5 separate regions of the Homo sapiens genome follow, and all the other regions are linked to region 5. Evidence: promoter capture Hi-C in 16 types of primary human blood cells and fetal thymus (Javierre and others, 2016). All regions are on one chromosome and are shown on one strand. Each heading gives the region's core, a stretch centred on a gene start or on the middle of the fragment in contact. The rest is flanking DNA. Distances are from core to core; before and after follow the strand shown. Region 1 overlaps CECR2 (CECR2 histone acetyl-lysine reader). Region 2 overlaps CECR2 (CECR2 histone acetyl-lysine reader). Region 3 overlaps CECR2 (CECR2 histone acetyl-lysine reader). Region 4 overlaps CECR2 (CECR2 histone acetyl-lysine reader). Region 5 holds the start of TMEM121B (transmembrane protein 121B).

What was found. The method cuts DNA at HindIII sites, captures the fragments that hold promoters and counts their contacts. A CHiCAGO score of 5 or more calls a contact.
Region 1: a contact is called between a fragment that was not itself captured here and the fragment with the promoter of TMEM121B in region 5, in 3 of 17 cell types (total B cells, naive B cells and total CD8 T cells). The highest score is 6.7, in total B cells.
Region 2: a fragment that was not itself captured here is called in contact with the fragment with the promoter of TMEM121B in region 5 in 6 of 17 cell types (endothelial precursors, M0 macrophages, M2 macrophages and 3 more); the score reaches 9.2 in endothelial precursors.
Region 3: a contact is called between a fragment that was not itself captured here and the fragment with the promoter of TMEM121B in region 5, in 11 of 17 cell types (naive B cells, total B cells, M0 macrophages and 8 more). The highest score is 8.0, in naive B cells.
Region 4: a fragment that was not itself captured here is called in contact with the fragment with the promoter of TMEM121B in region 5 in 1 of 17 cell types (M2 macrophages); the score reaches 5.0 in M2 macrophages.

Annotation. Positions count from the first base shown.
Region 1 is chr22:17,440,572-17,443,271 of GRCh38, reverse strand. All of the region lies in intron 1 of CECR2 (CECR2 histone acetyl-lysine reader), which reads right to left. Among named protein-coding and RNA genes, the nearest start is that of CECR2, 72 kb to the right of the region's middle. The HindIII fragment of the contact is 733 bases long and covers 1,014-1,746 here.
Region 2 is chr22:17,525,231-17,527,930 of GRCh38, reverse strand. The region is part of intron 9 of CECR2 (CECR2 histone acetyl-lysine reader); the gene reads right to left. Among named protein-coding and RNA genes, the nearest start is that of SLC25A18, 37 kb to the left of the region's middle. The HindIII fragment of the contact is 934 bases long and covers 972-1,905 here.
Region 3 is chr22:17,488,000-17,490,699 of GRCh38, reverse strand. The region is part of intron 2 of CECR2 (CECR2 histone acetyl-lysine reader); the gene reads right to left. Among named protein-coding and RNA genes, the nearest start is that of SLC25A18, 74 kb to the left of the region's middle. The HindIII fragment of the contact is 5,266 bases long and covers 1-2,700 here.
Region 4 is chr22:17,505,366-17,508,065 of GRCh38, reverse strand. All of the region lies in intron 7 of CECR2 (CECR2 histone acetyl-lysine reader), which reads right to left. Among named protein-coding and RNA genes, the nearest start is that of SLC25A18, 57 kb to the left of the region's middle. The HindIII fragment of the contact is 8,417 bases long and covers 1-2,700 here.
Region 5 is chr22:17,120,097-17,122,796 of GRCh38, reverse strand. It overlaps TMEM121B (transmembrane protein 121B), which reads left to right and starts at 1,437. Exons shown (of 1, transcript NM_031890.4): 1 at 1,437-2,700. The coding sequence starts at 1,670. It overlaps LINC01664 (long intergenic non-protein coding RNA 1664), which reads right to left and starts at 1,202. Exons shown (of 4, transcript NR_103793.1): 1 at 758-1,202. RefSeq lists an enhancer at 479-1,010 and a silencer at 1,596-1,725. The HindIII fragment of the contact is 5,742 bases long and covers 327-2,700 here.

The sequences.
Region 1 (2,700 bases), core at 131-2,630, 320 kb before region 5:
CTAAAAACGGGAAACTTACCTTTAAAGCACATCAGCTCTAACTGGATGCCCAACATTCTACCTGCCTTGCTTTCCTGGGCATTATGGATTTAAGGATTTGTAGAATGGCTGCTGAGAAGTTTCGTTTGTCCTTTAAGAAAACGAGCTAGAGGGCAGGAAGAGACGCTCAGAAGCAAACAGTACAAAGAAACACACCAGGACATACCACTGGCAGACTGGACAGCAAGTAAATGGAGCCTGATGAAAGAATAGAAAAAGGTTCCACTATTCCAATAGAAGAAAGGGTTTTCTTCCAAGATAAAGTTTAAAAAATAAAACAACTGCAAATGCAAAATGCCATTAACACCTATGACTCATTCAGTCATGAAGCAAAAATGTGAATGATTCTAGGGAAGCCTGTGAATTACTACTATCATCTAGTGATTGGCCAGGCGCGGTGGCTCACTCCTGTAATCCCAGCACTTTGGGAGGCCGAGGAGGGTGGATCATGAGGTCAGGAGTTCAAGACCAGCCTGGCCAAGATGGTGAAACCCCGTCTCTACTAAAAATACAAAAATTAGCCAGGCGGTGGTGGCGGGCGCCTGTAATCCCAGCTACTCGGGAGGCTGAGGCAGAGAACTGCTTGAATCCGGGAGGTGGAGGCTGCAGTGAGCTGAGACCGCACCACTGCACTCCAGCCTGGGCGACAGAGTGAGATTCCATCTCAAAAAACACAAAACAAACAAAAAAACCTGTGGTGTGATCAAAGCTCACTGCAAGCCTTGAACTCCTGGGCTCCAGTGATCCTCCTGCCTCGGCCTCCCTAGTAGCTAGGACTACAAGATGTGCATCAACTACGCCCAACTAATTTAAAAATATATATGTATTTGTAGAAATGGGGGTCTCGCTATGTTGCTCAGGCTGCTCCAGAACTCCTAGCCTCAAGCTATCCTCTCCCATCTTGGCCTCCTGAAGTTCTGGGATTATAGGTGTGAGCCACCACACCTGGCCTGATCTGCATTTTTTAATAAGCTTCCCTCACCATGGATTCCCATGAGCTCCAAAGTGAATAGTGTTAAGGGGACCAAATTCTGAATTTCACACGGAACTCTTCTAGTATGACATGCTCTTGTTTTGCGGTTTTTTCTGTCTTTCCCACCTTGAATCTTCTTCTGAATTCAAAATAGGTAAAGCTGTTGATAATGTAAACAGCTTCCCAACTTTGTATAATTTCAAAGAGACCAGAGTTTGATTCTAGTAGAAGATGGTCAATGAAAATGAAGTCAACAGGTCTGCCACCCGCTTCCTGCAGAGAAATATGTTCAGAACATCCAAATCCTTTCCTTGTGAGAGACAAAAATTGTAAGACAGAGTATGGTGTGTGATATCACCTCCCTATGGAACTTTATTTTATACTTCAACATGTTCCATGAAATTCTTACAAGGTGAGTTATACATCTTAATCACATTTCTGTAAATTCTGTTTCATAAAGGACTTTAGCCAAACAATTATTTATCATCTTTCTTAATCTTGTTTCCATGTAAAATTCTTCAAACCAGAAATAATCTATCAAGACTGGAAAAACAATCTATTCATAGATCCAGGACTGAGACATCTAGATAACTTATTATCCTCTGGCAATATCCTCAAAAAAGAAGGATTCATTCATTCATTCAAGTAACGGGGGGTGGGGTCCACAGAGTAAGACACAGGGAAAGCATTTAACCCCTAGTCAATCTCCCCCGGCTACTTTTTAAAAGAAAGCTTTCATCACGTTAGAATAAATGACGCACTATTCTATACAAATCATGGTGAGTGATTTAAAATTACCATACTACAATACAAATATTATTTGCTAAACTAAAATAAAATTGAAGGGCTCTGTGTTAAGATTATCAGCCTAGTACAGTATCACAGCTGTGCGTTCCATCATATTCCTCCTATATCTGGCAGCAGGAAAGATCTATCTAGGGCCATCCCAGATTCCCAACAACAACCAGTATACTTGCTCCCTCAACACGCATCATTTTAATGTGTTAATAGGCCAGGCATGGTGGCTCACGCCTGTAATCCCAGCACTTTTGAGAAGCCAAGGCAGGCGGATCACCTGAGGTCAGGAGTTCGAGACCAGCCTGGCCAACATGGTGAAACCCCATCTCTATTAAAAATATAAAAATTAGCCGGGCGTGGTGGCATGCACCTGTAATCCCAACTACTCTGGAGGCTGTGGCAGGACAATCACTTGAACCCGGGTTGTGGTAAGCTGAGATCACTCCACTGCACTCCAGTCTGGGTGACAGAGTGAGACTCCATCCCGCCCCCTGCCCCCTGCCCCTCCCCCCCAAAAACAGTGTTAATAAGACCTGACAGTCAGCTGAATACCCATGAAATTAGAAATATAATCATCAACAGATACAAGGCACTACACTTTCTTGAACATTTGGTTACTAAAAAAAAGTCCCAGAAAACACAGGGGATGTCTGTAATGATTGTATAATCATCATGTTGAGAAAGGAGTGGAGGGGTAGGGATCAGAGGGTGGTAGTCAAATTTCTGTTTCTAATAAATCTGTTCGGAGACTTGAAATCAAGTTTTTCTTGTTTTCTTACATCACTTTGCTATATAATGCTATACAACCTTCCCTCTCATTACTTCAAGTCAGATATCAGATCAATAAATCAATAAAAGTCCCAGCTTCACTTCAAGAGACAGGGAATAGA
Region 2 (2,700 bases), core at 189-2,688, 410 kb before region 5:
TCTCATTCTCACCAGTATTTGTTATTGCCTGTCCTTTGGGTATAAACCATTTTAACTGTGTAAGATGATATCTCATAATAGTTTTGGATTTCCATTTCTCTGATGATCAATGATACTGAGCACTTTTTTCATAAGCTTGTTTGCTTTTTTTTTTTTTTTTTGAGACAGAATCTTGCTGTATTGCCCAGGCTGGAATGAAGTCTTGGCTTGATCTCTGCTCACTGCCACCTCTGTCTCCCAGGTTCAAGCAATTCTCCTGCCTCAGCCTCCTGAGTAGCTGGGATTACAGGCGTGTGCCACCATGCCTAGCTAATTTTAGTATTTTTAGTAGAGGCAGGGTTTTGCCATGTTGGCCAGGTTGGTCTTGAACTCCTGATCTCAAGTCATCTGCCCGCCTCGGCCTCCCAAAGTGCTGGGATTACAAGCATGAGCCACCACACCTGGCTTGTTTTTTAATTTATTTTTATTTTTTTGAGACAGGGTCTCGCTCTATTGCCCAGGATGGAGTGCAGTGGCATGATCTCAGCTCACTGGAGCCTGGACCTCCCAGGCTCAAGCTATCTGCCCATCTCAGCTTCCCAAGTAGCTGGCACTACAGGTATGAACAACCATGCTCGGTTAATTTTTGTATTTTTTGTAGAGATGGGGTTTTACCGTGTTGCCGAGGCTGGTCTTGAACTCCTGTGCTAAAACAATCTGCCAGCCTTGGCCTCCCAAAGTGCTGAGCTTACAAGCATGACTCAACATGCCTGGCCTCGTCTGCATTTGTATGACTTCTTTTGAGAAATCTCTATTCAAATATTTTGCCCATTTTAATATCCGATTATTAGACTTTTTCCTAAGAGTTATTTCAGCTCCTTCTACATTCTGGTTATTCATCCTTTGTCAACTGGGCAGTTTGCAAATGTTTTCTCCCATTCTGTGGGTTGTCTCTTCACTTTGCTGGTTGTTTCCTTTGCTGTGCAGAAGCTTTTTAACTTGATGTGATCCCATTTGTCCATTTTTGCTTTGGGTGCCTGTGCTTGAAATCAATGTCCTAGAGGGTTTCTCCAACGTTTTTTCTTGTAGAGTTTCATAATTTGAGGTCTTAGATATAATTCTTTTTTTTTTTTTTTTTTTTTTGAGATGGAGTCTTACTCTGTCACACAGGTTGGAGTGCAGTGATGCAATCTTAGCTCACTGCAACCTCTGCTGCCCAGGTTCAAGCGATTTTCTTGCCTCAGCCTCCTGAGTAGCTGGGATTACCGGTGCCTGCCACCGTGCCCGGCTAATTTTTGTATTTTTAGTAGAGACGGGGTTTCAACACCTTGGCCAGGCTGGCCTTGAACTCTTGACCTTGTAATTCACCCGCCTTGGCCTCCCAAAGTGCTGGGATTACAGGCATAAGTCGTCACGCCCGGCCTTAGATATAATTATTTAATCCACTTTGATTTTATTTTTGTATGTGGCAGGAGATAGGGGTCTAGTTTCATTCTTCTGCTTATGGATATCCAGTTTCCCCAGCACCACTTGTAGAAGAGACTCTTTTCCCCAGTGTATGTTCTTAGCACGTGTGTTGAAAATGAGTTCGCTGTACGTGTGTGGACTTGTTTCTGGATTCTCTATTCTGTTCCATTTGTCTGTGTGTTGGTTTTTATGCCAGATCCCCATATTGTTTTGGTCCCCACAGGTCTGAAATACAATTTGAAGTCAGGTAATTCCTCCAGGTTTGTTATTTTTGCTTAGGATAGCTTTGCCTATTCTGGGTCTTTTGTGGGTCCATATAAATTAAAGGATTTTTTTTTCTATTTTTGTGAAGAATGTCATTGGTATTCTGGTAGACATTGCATTGAATCTGTAGATTACTTTGAGTACTATGGACATTTTAAGAATACTGATTCTTGTTATCCATGAACGTAGAAAGCTTTCCAGTTTTTGGGTGTTCTTTTCAATTTGTTTCCTCCATGTTTTATAGTTTTCATTATAGAGCTCTTTCACTTCTTTGGTTAATTCCTAGGATTTAATTTTATTTGTGACTTCTGTAGATGGGACTACAATACAGGCATTATTAATCTTACATTACAGAAACTGAGCCATAAAAATGAGTTTTGGACCTGCCTATATAAATTAAAATGACAGGTGTACCCAATAAGGACCCTATTAAATAAAAAAACACAATTCCACTAAAAAATATAAACAAATAAAAGCCAGTTATTATGTCCTGAGGAATTTAAATGTGGCACTGGACATAGCCAATTATGGAAGATCTTACAAGTGAGATATACTACATAGTATGACACAGGCTAAACCTGTAGATTATATGCACTAAGGGTTGTTTTTTTTATTGAGACAGAGTCTTGCTCTGTCGCCCAGGCTGGAGTGCAGTAGCACGATCTCGGCTCACTGCAACTTCCACCTCCGGGGTTCAAGCAATTCTCCCACCTCATCCTCCTGAGTAGCTGGGATTACAGGCGTGAGCTACCACGTTTGGCCATGTTGGCCAGGCTGTCTCAAACTCCTGACCTCAAGTGATTCGGCCACTTTGGCTTCCCAAAGTGCTGGGATTACAGGCGTGAGCCACTGTGCCCAGCCATCATTTCTTTCTTTCTTTTCTTTTCCCTCCCTCCCTTCCTTTCTTTTTTTTTTTTTTTTTTTTTTTTTTTTTGGAGATGGAGTTTCACTCTTGTTGCCCAGGCTGGAGTACAATGGCACGATCTTGGC
Region 3 (2,700 bases), core at 58-2,557, 370 kb before region 5:
AGGTGGACAGATCATGAAGTCAGGAGTTTGAGACCAGCCTGGCCAATATGGTGAAACCCTGTCTCTACTAAAAATAAAAAATAAAAATAAAAAAAAAATTAGCCGGGCGTGGTGGCATGCACCTGTAATCCCAGCTACTCGGGAGGCTGATGCAGGAGAATTGCTTGCACTCAGGAGGCGGAGGTTGCAGTGAGCTGAGATCACACCACTGCACTCCAGCCTGGGTGACAGAGCAAGACGCCATCTCAAAAAATAAATAAATAAAAATACAAAGATTAAAAGGATAGAAAATGATCTACCAGGCACAGTAAGCATGAGAAAGCTGAGGATTAATATGAGACAAAGCAGATGTGGAGACAGAGTGTCACATAAGAAGAAATGGAACAACTTCCCAGGACTATATAACAAAGCTACCGCTACACATCCAATAACAGGACACCACAACCCATGAGACAAAATGGGCACAACTAATGGGAGAAATAGATCCACAATCAGAGAGATTTTAATACTGGCTTCTCATTAATAGACCAAACACACACACACACACACACAAAAAAAAAACAGTAAGGAACAGATCTCAACAGTATTACCACTAACATACTAAATCACGAATTTAAATAATACACTTTTGGGTCACAGAAGAAATAAAGGAGAGCATGTTTTAAACAATAATATAAACATCAAAATTCGCAGGATGCAGCCAACTATGGGTTAGAAGGAAATTTACAAGTTTTTTAGGGAAAATTTATAGCTTTAAATGCCTGTTTTTTGAAAAAAGGCTCAAAAACAGTACTCCAAAGAAGCAAAAAAAAAAAAAGAGCAAGCTAAAGCCAAAGTAAACAGAGGAAATAAAAAAGAGAAATCAATAAAATAAAAAAGCAAAGAGTAAAGAAAATTAATAATATAAAACAGTTCCTTAGTAAACATTTAAAAAGTTGATAAGGCCTGGAATGGCTGCTCACGCCTGTAATTCCAGCACTTTGGGAGGCTGAGGCTGGAGGACAACTTGAGGCCATGAGTTCAAGACCAGCCTGGGCAATATATCAAGACCTGTCTCTACAACAAATATGCTTTAAATAAGCAGGGTGTGATGGAGCATACCTATAGTCCCAGCTACTCAGGAGGCTGAAGCCGGAGGACTGTTTGAGCCCAGGAGGTCGAGGCTGCAGTGGGCTATGATCACAGCACTGCACTCCAGCCTGGGTAACAGAGTGGGAACCCTGTCTCAAAAAAGTCAATAAATAAATTAAATAAGCATCCCTAATTTAAAAGAAATAAGTAAAACACTTGGCCAAATATTTCACCAAAAAAGACATATACAAATTTATGGTAAGCACATGAATAACCACTCCACATTACTAGTCATCGGGGAAATGCAAATTAAACCCACAATGAGCTGCCACTTTCAACACAATAGGATTAGTAAAATTAAAAACAGCAGATGTTGGCAAAGATAGGAAGTAACTAGGCCGGGCGAGGTGGCTCATGCCTGTAATCCCAGTACTTTGGGAGGCCGAGGCGGGTGATCACCTGAGGTCAGGAGTTCAAGACCAGCTTGATTAACATGGTGAAACCCCGTCTCTACTAAATACAAAAAATTAGCTGGCGCATGCCTGTAATCCCAGCTACTTGGGAGGCTGAGGCAGGAGAATCACTTGAGGTGGAGGTTGCAGTGAGCAGAGATAGCACCATTGCACTCCAGCCTGGGCAAAAAGAGCAAAACTCTTGTCTCAAACAAATAAATAAGTAAATAAAAATTTAAAAAGATATGAAGCAACTGGACTGTTCAGATATTGCTGGTGGAAACGTAAATGTTGCAAGTGTTTGGAAAATAATTTCACAGTTTAAGTCAAACATACTTTTACCATGTGACCCGCCAGCAATTCCCAAGAGAAATGAAATTAAGTGCACACAAGCATTTGTATGCAAATGTTCACAGCAGCTTCATTCATAATAGGCTCCAACTGGAAGCAACCTAAGTGCTCATCCCAAGAACAGATTCAATAAATTGTGATATATTTTTCACTAGATACAATTTAGTCCCCCACCCCCCTCAAAGGAATAAACCACTGATACAAACAATGGCATGGGTGAATATCATACAGGCACTATGTGAATGAAAGAAGCTGATGTGAGTTCATTTCACACTGTGTGATCCCATTCATACAGTTCTAGAACAGGTTAGGCTCCAACTATAGTGATAAAAATGTCGTCAGTGGTTGCCAGGTGTACAATGTAGGTATGGGGAAGACTGACTACAAAGGAAACTTTCTGGGAAGACAGAAATGTCTATTTTCTTCAGTAGGATAGTGACTATGTGGTGCCCTCATTTGTTACAAAACACTGGCCTATGTTAAAAAAGACACGATGAACGTACTTAACAGAAGTATTGTCATTTCCAAAAAGATGACAGATATTTCTGTAAAGAGAACCCAAAACACTAAATGTTTGTTTATAAGGGATCTAAATTAGGGAATCTATTACGCAATGCTAGATCCATAATTAAAAATTAAATGAGGCCGGGTGCGGTGGCTCACGCCTGTAATCCCAGCACTTTGGGAGGCCAAGGGGGGGCAGATCACCTGAGGTCAGGAGTTTGAGACCAGCCTGGTCAACATGGTGAAACGCTGTCTCTACTAAAAATACAAAAATTAGCCGGGCATGATGGTGGGTGCCTTAATCCCAGCTACTTGGGAGGCA
Region 4 (2,700 bases), core at 110-2,609, 390 kb before region 5:
GTATGTTTAATTTTATCAGGTATGGCGTTCAAAGATATCTATATCAGAACGAACAGAGTAGCTTCCAGTTATTTCTTTCATTTTGGAAATGTTTGGAAGTTATCTTTTCCTTGAAGGTTTAGAAAACTTTACCTGTGAATAAATCGATCCTTCTGTGAGAACTCCCTAATTATTAGTCTGCTAAGATTTTCTACTTCCCAATTTAGATTTTTCTTACTATACTATTCTTCTGGTTAATAGGACTTCATTGAGGTTTTTGAACTTAAAAGCACTATCTATTTCTTTGAAAATATCAAATCCATTATTTCTTTCTGGTCTGCAACTCCATGGTTCTTGAAAATTGTATTTAAAGATTACCCTATTTAAGGGTTACCTTATTTGAATTTTTCTCCTTTTGAAAAGAATCAATGCTTGAAATTTTTAATCAAAATCATCAGTTTTATGCTTTAAGTTTTTTTTCCCCTTAATTCTTCTATCCCCCAAAATGTTAGGCTGAATATAGCAGTAAAAAAGCAGAAATGATAAAAGAAGGCTTAAGGTGACTGGGTATATTTCCAGATAATTTAATGTGCCATGACTGATGATATCAATAAAGTCATATGCAAGGTTACACAAAGTCATAAAAACTATCTCTTTACATCATTGTTACTTTAAGAAAATTAGATTATATATTTTAATTCCTAGAAAAATTGTTGCAGTGAATTGCTGATCACAAAAACAGAATGCAATTATCGTACATGAACTTAAGTACACCGATGGTGAAACGGAGGTTTTCTGGATCATCCAGGACGGCGGAAGTCTTGAAGCACTGTTTGTAAGTTCCCGTTATTAGAGAAAGGTAATTTCTAGGACTTTCCCTAAAGCATCAACCTGCTTAAGGGTTAGACACAGCACCAGATCTACAATAAATTAAATAATACATTTGACATGTTTGCCTCCCTGTAGGTACTGCAGTGATGATTTACAAATACTTTCTCTTCATATTTCACTGGCAAGTGGTCAAATATTTCTGGTCCTCTATTAACATGTATCAATAATCAGAAATATTATTATCGATATGAAATAAGCAAACTGAATAATTATCAACCAACCACCATAGAAAAGGCAAGGCAGGCTAAACGTGGTAGCTCACGCCTGTAATCATAACACTTGGGAGGCCAAGGTGGGTGGATCACTTGTGGCCAGGAGTCAAGACCAGCCTGGCCAACACAGCGAAACCCCATCTCTACTAAAAATATAAAAACATTAGCCAGGCATGGTGGCGCACGCCTATAGTCCCAGCTACTTGGGAGGCTGAGGCATGAGAATCGCTTGAACCCAGGAGGTGGAGGCTGCGGGGGGCCAAGATTGTGCCACTGCACTCCACCCTGAGTGACAGAGCGAGTCTCTGTCTCAAAACAAACAAACAAACAAACAAAAAAACATGAAAAGAAATGACATTAAGTGTCGTGGCTGTTAAAAAGATAAGACATGGTCCTTGAGATGAAGAAGCCTGAACTCACAAAGATATAAAATAAGCATAAAGAAACATGTTAAGCGACAAAAGGCTGGGGGAAACAAGGACAGTTCATGGACGTAGTGACATTTAAGTAAGGCTTTTGAGAGAGTAGTATTTAAATGGGTAAGGAAGTAGAGAGGGGGCCAGGTGTGGTGGCTCACACCTGTAATCCCAGCACTTTGGGAGGCCAAGACAGGAAGAGTGCTTCAGCCCAGGAGTTCAGGACCAGCCCAGGCAACATAGGGAAACCCTACGCACAGATAAAATTAAAAGATTAGCCAGGCGTGGTGGCATGTGCCTGCAGGCCCAGCTACTCGAGAGGATCACTTCGGCCTGGGAGATTGAGGCTGCAGTGAGCTATGACTGCACCACTGTACTCCAGCTTGGGAAATAGAGCAAGACCCTGTCTTAAAGCAATAAAAGCTGGGCACAGTGGCTCATGCCTATAATCCCAGCACTTTGGGAAGCCAAGACAGAAGGATAGATTGAGGCTAGGAGTTTGGGACAAGCCTAGGCAGCAGAGCAAGACCTCGTCTCTACAAAAAATAAAAAATAATTAGCTGGGTGTGGTGGCACGAGCCTGTGTCCCCAGCTACTTGGGAGGTTGAGATGAGAGGATCACATGAGCCTGGCAAATCGAGGCTACAGTGAGCTGTGACCACACTACTGCATTCCAGTCTGGGCGACAAAGTGAGAGAGCTTGTCCTTAAAAAAAAAAAAAAAAAAAAAAAAGCCGGGTGCAGTGGCTCACACCTGTAATCCCAGCACTTTGGGAGGCTGAGGCGGTATATCACTTGAGGTCAGGAGTTCTAGACCAGCCTGGTCAAAATGGTGAAACCCTGTCTCTACTAAAAACACAAAAAATTAGCTGGGCGTGGTGGTGGTGTGAGCCTATAATCCCAGCTACTCAGGAGGCTGAGGCAGGAGAATCGCTTGAACTTGGAAGGCAGAGGTTGCAGTGAACTCAGATTGCACCGCTGCACTGCAGCCTGGGAGACAGAGAGAGACTCAAAAAAAAAAAAAAAAAAAAAAAGGAAAAAGAGGATGAAGGATGTTTGAAAATGCATGAAGTAGGGTGTACATGCATGATAATATGGGGCATATGGTTTATGAGACTATAGCTTGCCCTGAATTTGGTGAAGAGGACACAATCAGGTAGAGCCAGGCAAAGGGCTGGCAATGGAGCTACAAGGACAAAGACA
Region 5 (2,700 bases), core at 188-2,687:
CAAAAGTGGTGTGTGTGGGGGAGGTGGAGATGGTGCAGGTTCTAAATTGTATATTTACCAGGGATTGGCTGTGCAGACTGACCTCCACGGAACTGGAAAAGGCAGGTTTGGCTGAAACGGACTCTTATTTAAGAGGCAGATTTAGGGGCGAGGCCTGACTAACCCCTGCGGCTCCACTGCATACAGCTCCCTCACACTGCATGGTGTTATCACGCTGCAAGCTGTTACCTAGGGGAGATGAGCCCGCAGCAGCAGCTTCAAAGGTCATGAAATCAGGGAGCCCACAGGCCCCACAAGGGTGCAGAGGCCAATAGGGCAGGCAAGCTTTCTGCCTTGTTTTCATGGGGCTGGGAATGGGATGTTTCCATTATTGGTGAACCTCAGATTGTTTTTGAGCCCCAACTGCTCTAGTCATTTCCTTCTCCCTTAAACCCCTAAAGGCAGCACTCTACCTTCTGCCTTCCAGAGTTGCTGCATCGACATCCATCCCCAGCCTTGGATGAGTCCTGGGGTGAGCTGGTGTGCTCTCTCCTGAGACTGTCTACGCAGGGCCACTGACTGCATTCCTTCCTTGGTGTCTCTGTCTACTGTGGTGGGCTGTAACCCTCACCATCATCCCTTTGGAGCCTTTGTTTTCATCCAGGTGCCCACACCTCTAAATGCCCCTTTATTTTACTCTCTGCTAGACACATCTTCCTATTACGTCCCATTCTGCTTTAAAAACCTTTGAGAAGCCCGCTGGGCGGATGCCACTTGCCCAATCTCGTTCCCTCGTCTCTCCTCCCAGGCAGGTGTTTTCAGGGAACTTCTCCATCCGCTGGAATCGGGTCGTCCCTGAGATGGCTCGCGACCCCAGGGCTGGGTACATGGATATTTAGGACTATAGGTCTGGGGCTGCTGCCCGAGCCCTTTTTGCCAACATGGCCTGACTCCTCCACTGGTTTTTAGTGCCTTAGGGAGAGGCGGATGGCCCCATGGGAAGGGCGCTGGACGGAGGGTGGAGGCGAAGCTGCCCACTGCCTGCCTCAGAGCTGAGAAGGCCAGGTGCAAAGCCCGCCCTGTAGCTTGAGCCCATCGCTTGGGGGCACCGAAGCCATCTAGGTACTAACGCCCTGCGGTACAGCCGGTGGGATTCCCAGCGACTTCCTTAGGAGTCCGCGCTCCATGGGAGTCCCCCCGCACCGGGTCGCCTCGCCCTGGCGGCTGCCCGCGCCTCCTCCCGCTTCCTCCAGGCCACAGGGCTCCCGACCCGACTGTGACGCACTGCACCCCCGCCCCTTCTCTTCCCGTTGATCCAGCGCGCCGCGCTTTCTCCTCCTCTGGTCTCGCTGCTTCCTCTCCCCCTCGAATCCAGTCCTGGTTTCCCCGCCGCCAGCCTCCCTCCCTCCCGGCGGGACTCGCTCCCCGCCCCGCCCCGCCCCGCCCCCGCCTCGCCTGTCTTCACCGCGGTCCGCTCGGTTCACCGCCTGCCCCCTCTCCCTGCCGCCCGGCCCGGCTCGCCCAGTCCAGTGGCTCCAGTCCGGATCTCGCCGCCGCCCGGCCCAGGTGCGAGTCCCCACTGCTGGGGAGGCGGCGGGCCCCGGCTCCCCTCGGCCGCCTAGCCCGCCTCGCCCGCCCGGGGTTGGCGGGGAGGGAACAGCTGGGCGGCCCCAGAGCCCCTCGGAGGACAATGCGCCCGGCGCTCGGCCACCCTCGCTCGGTCTCCTCCGCGTCCGGTTCCTTCCCGCCGCCCCCGGCAGCCGCCCGGCTGCAGCCCCTCTTCCTCCGCGGGGGCTCCTTCCGCGGCCGGAGAGGCTCCGGCGACAGCAGCACCAGCACCAGCACCAGCCGCGGGGGAGGCGGCGGCAGACGCGGCGGGGGCGGCGGCTCCCCGAGCAGCAGCACGGGCGCCGAGCGCGAGGACGACGACGAGAGCCTCAGCGTCAGCAAGCCGCTGGTGCCCAACGCCGCGCTCCTGGGGCCGCCGGCTCAGGTGGGCGCCCCCGCCGGCCCCGCGCCTGTCGCCTTCTCCTCCTCAGCGGCCACCTCCTCCTCCACCTCCACGCCCACCTCCTCCTGCAGCATGACAGCCGCGGACTTCGGCGGGGGCGCCGCGGCCGGGGCCGTCGGGGGCCCCGGGAGCCGCTCGGCGGGGGGCGCGGGCGGCACCGGGACCGGCAGCGGCGCCTCCTGCTGCCCGTGTTGCTGCTGCTGCGGCTGCCCAGACCGCCCCGGCCGCAGAGGTCGGCGCCGCGGCTGCGCCCCCAGTCCCAGGTGCCGCTGGGGCTACCAGGCGCTGTCCGTGGTGCTGCTGCTGGCGCAGGGCGGCCTGCTGGACCTGTACCTCATCGCCGTCACCGACCTGTACTGGTGCTCCTGGATCGCCACTGACCTGGTGGTGGTGGTGGGCTGGGCCATCTTCTTCGCCAAGAACAGCCGGGGCCGTCGGGGCGGCGCAGCCAGCGGCGCGCACAACCACCACCTGCACCACCACCACGCCGCGCCGCCCCTGCATCTGCCCGCCCCCTCGGCCGCTACCGCTGGGGCCAAGGCACGCGGAGCCCGCGGGGGCGCCGGCGGCGCGGGGGGCGGCCTGGGGGCGGCCGCGGCAGCGGGCGAGTTCGCCTTCGCCTACCTGGCCTGGCTTATCTACTCCATCGCCTTCACTCCCAAGGTGGTGCTGATCCTGGGCACGTCCATCCTAGACCTCATCGAGCTACG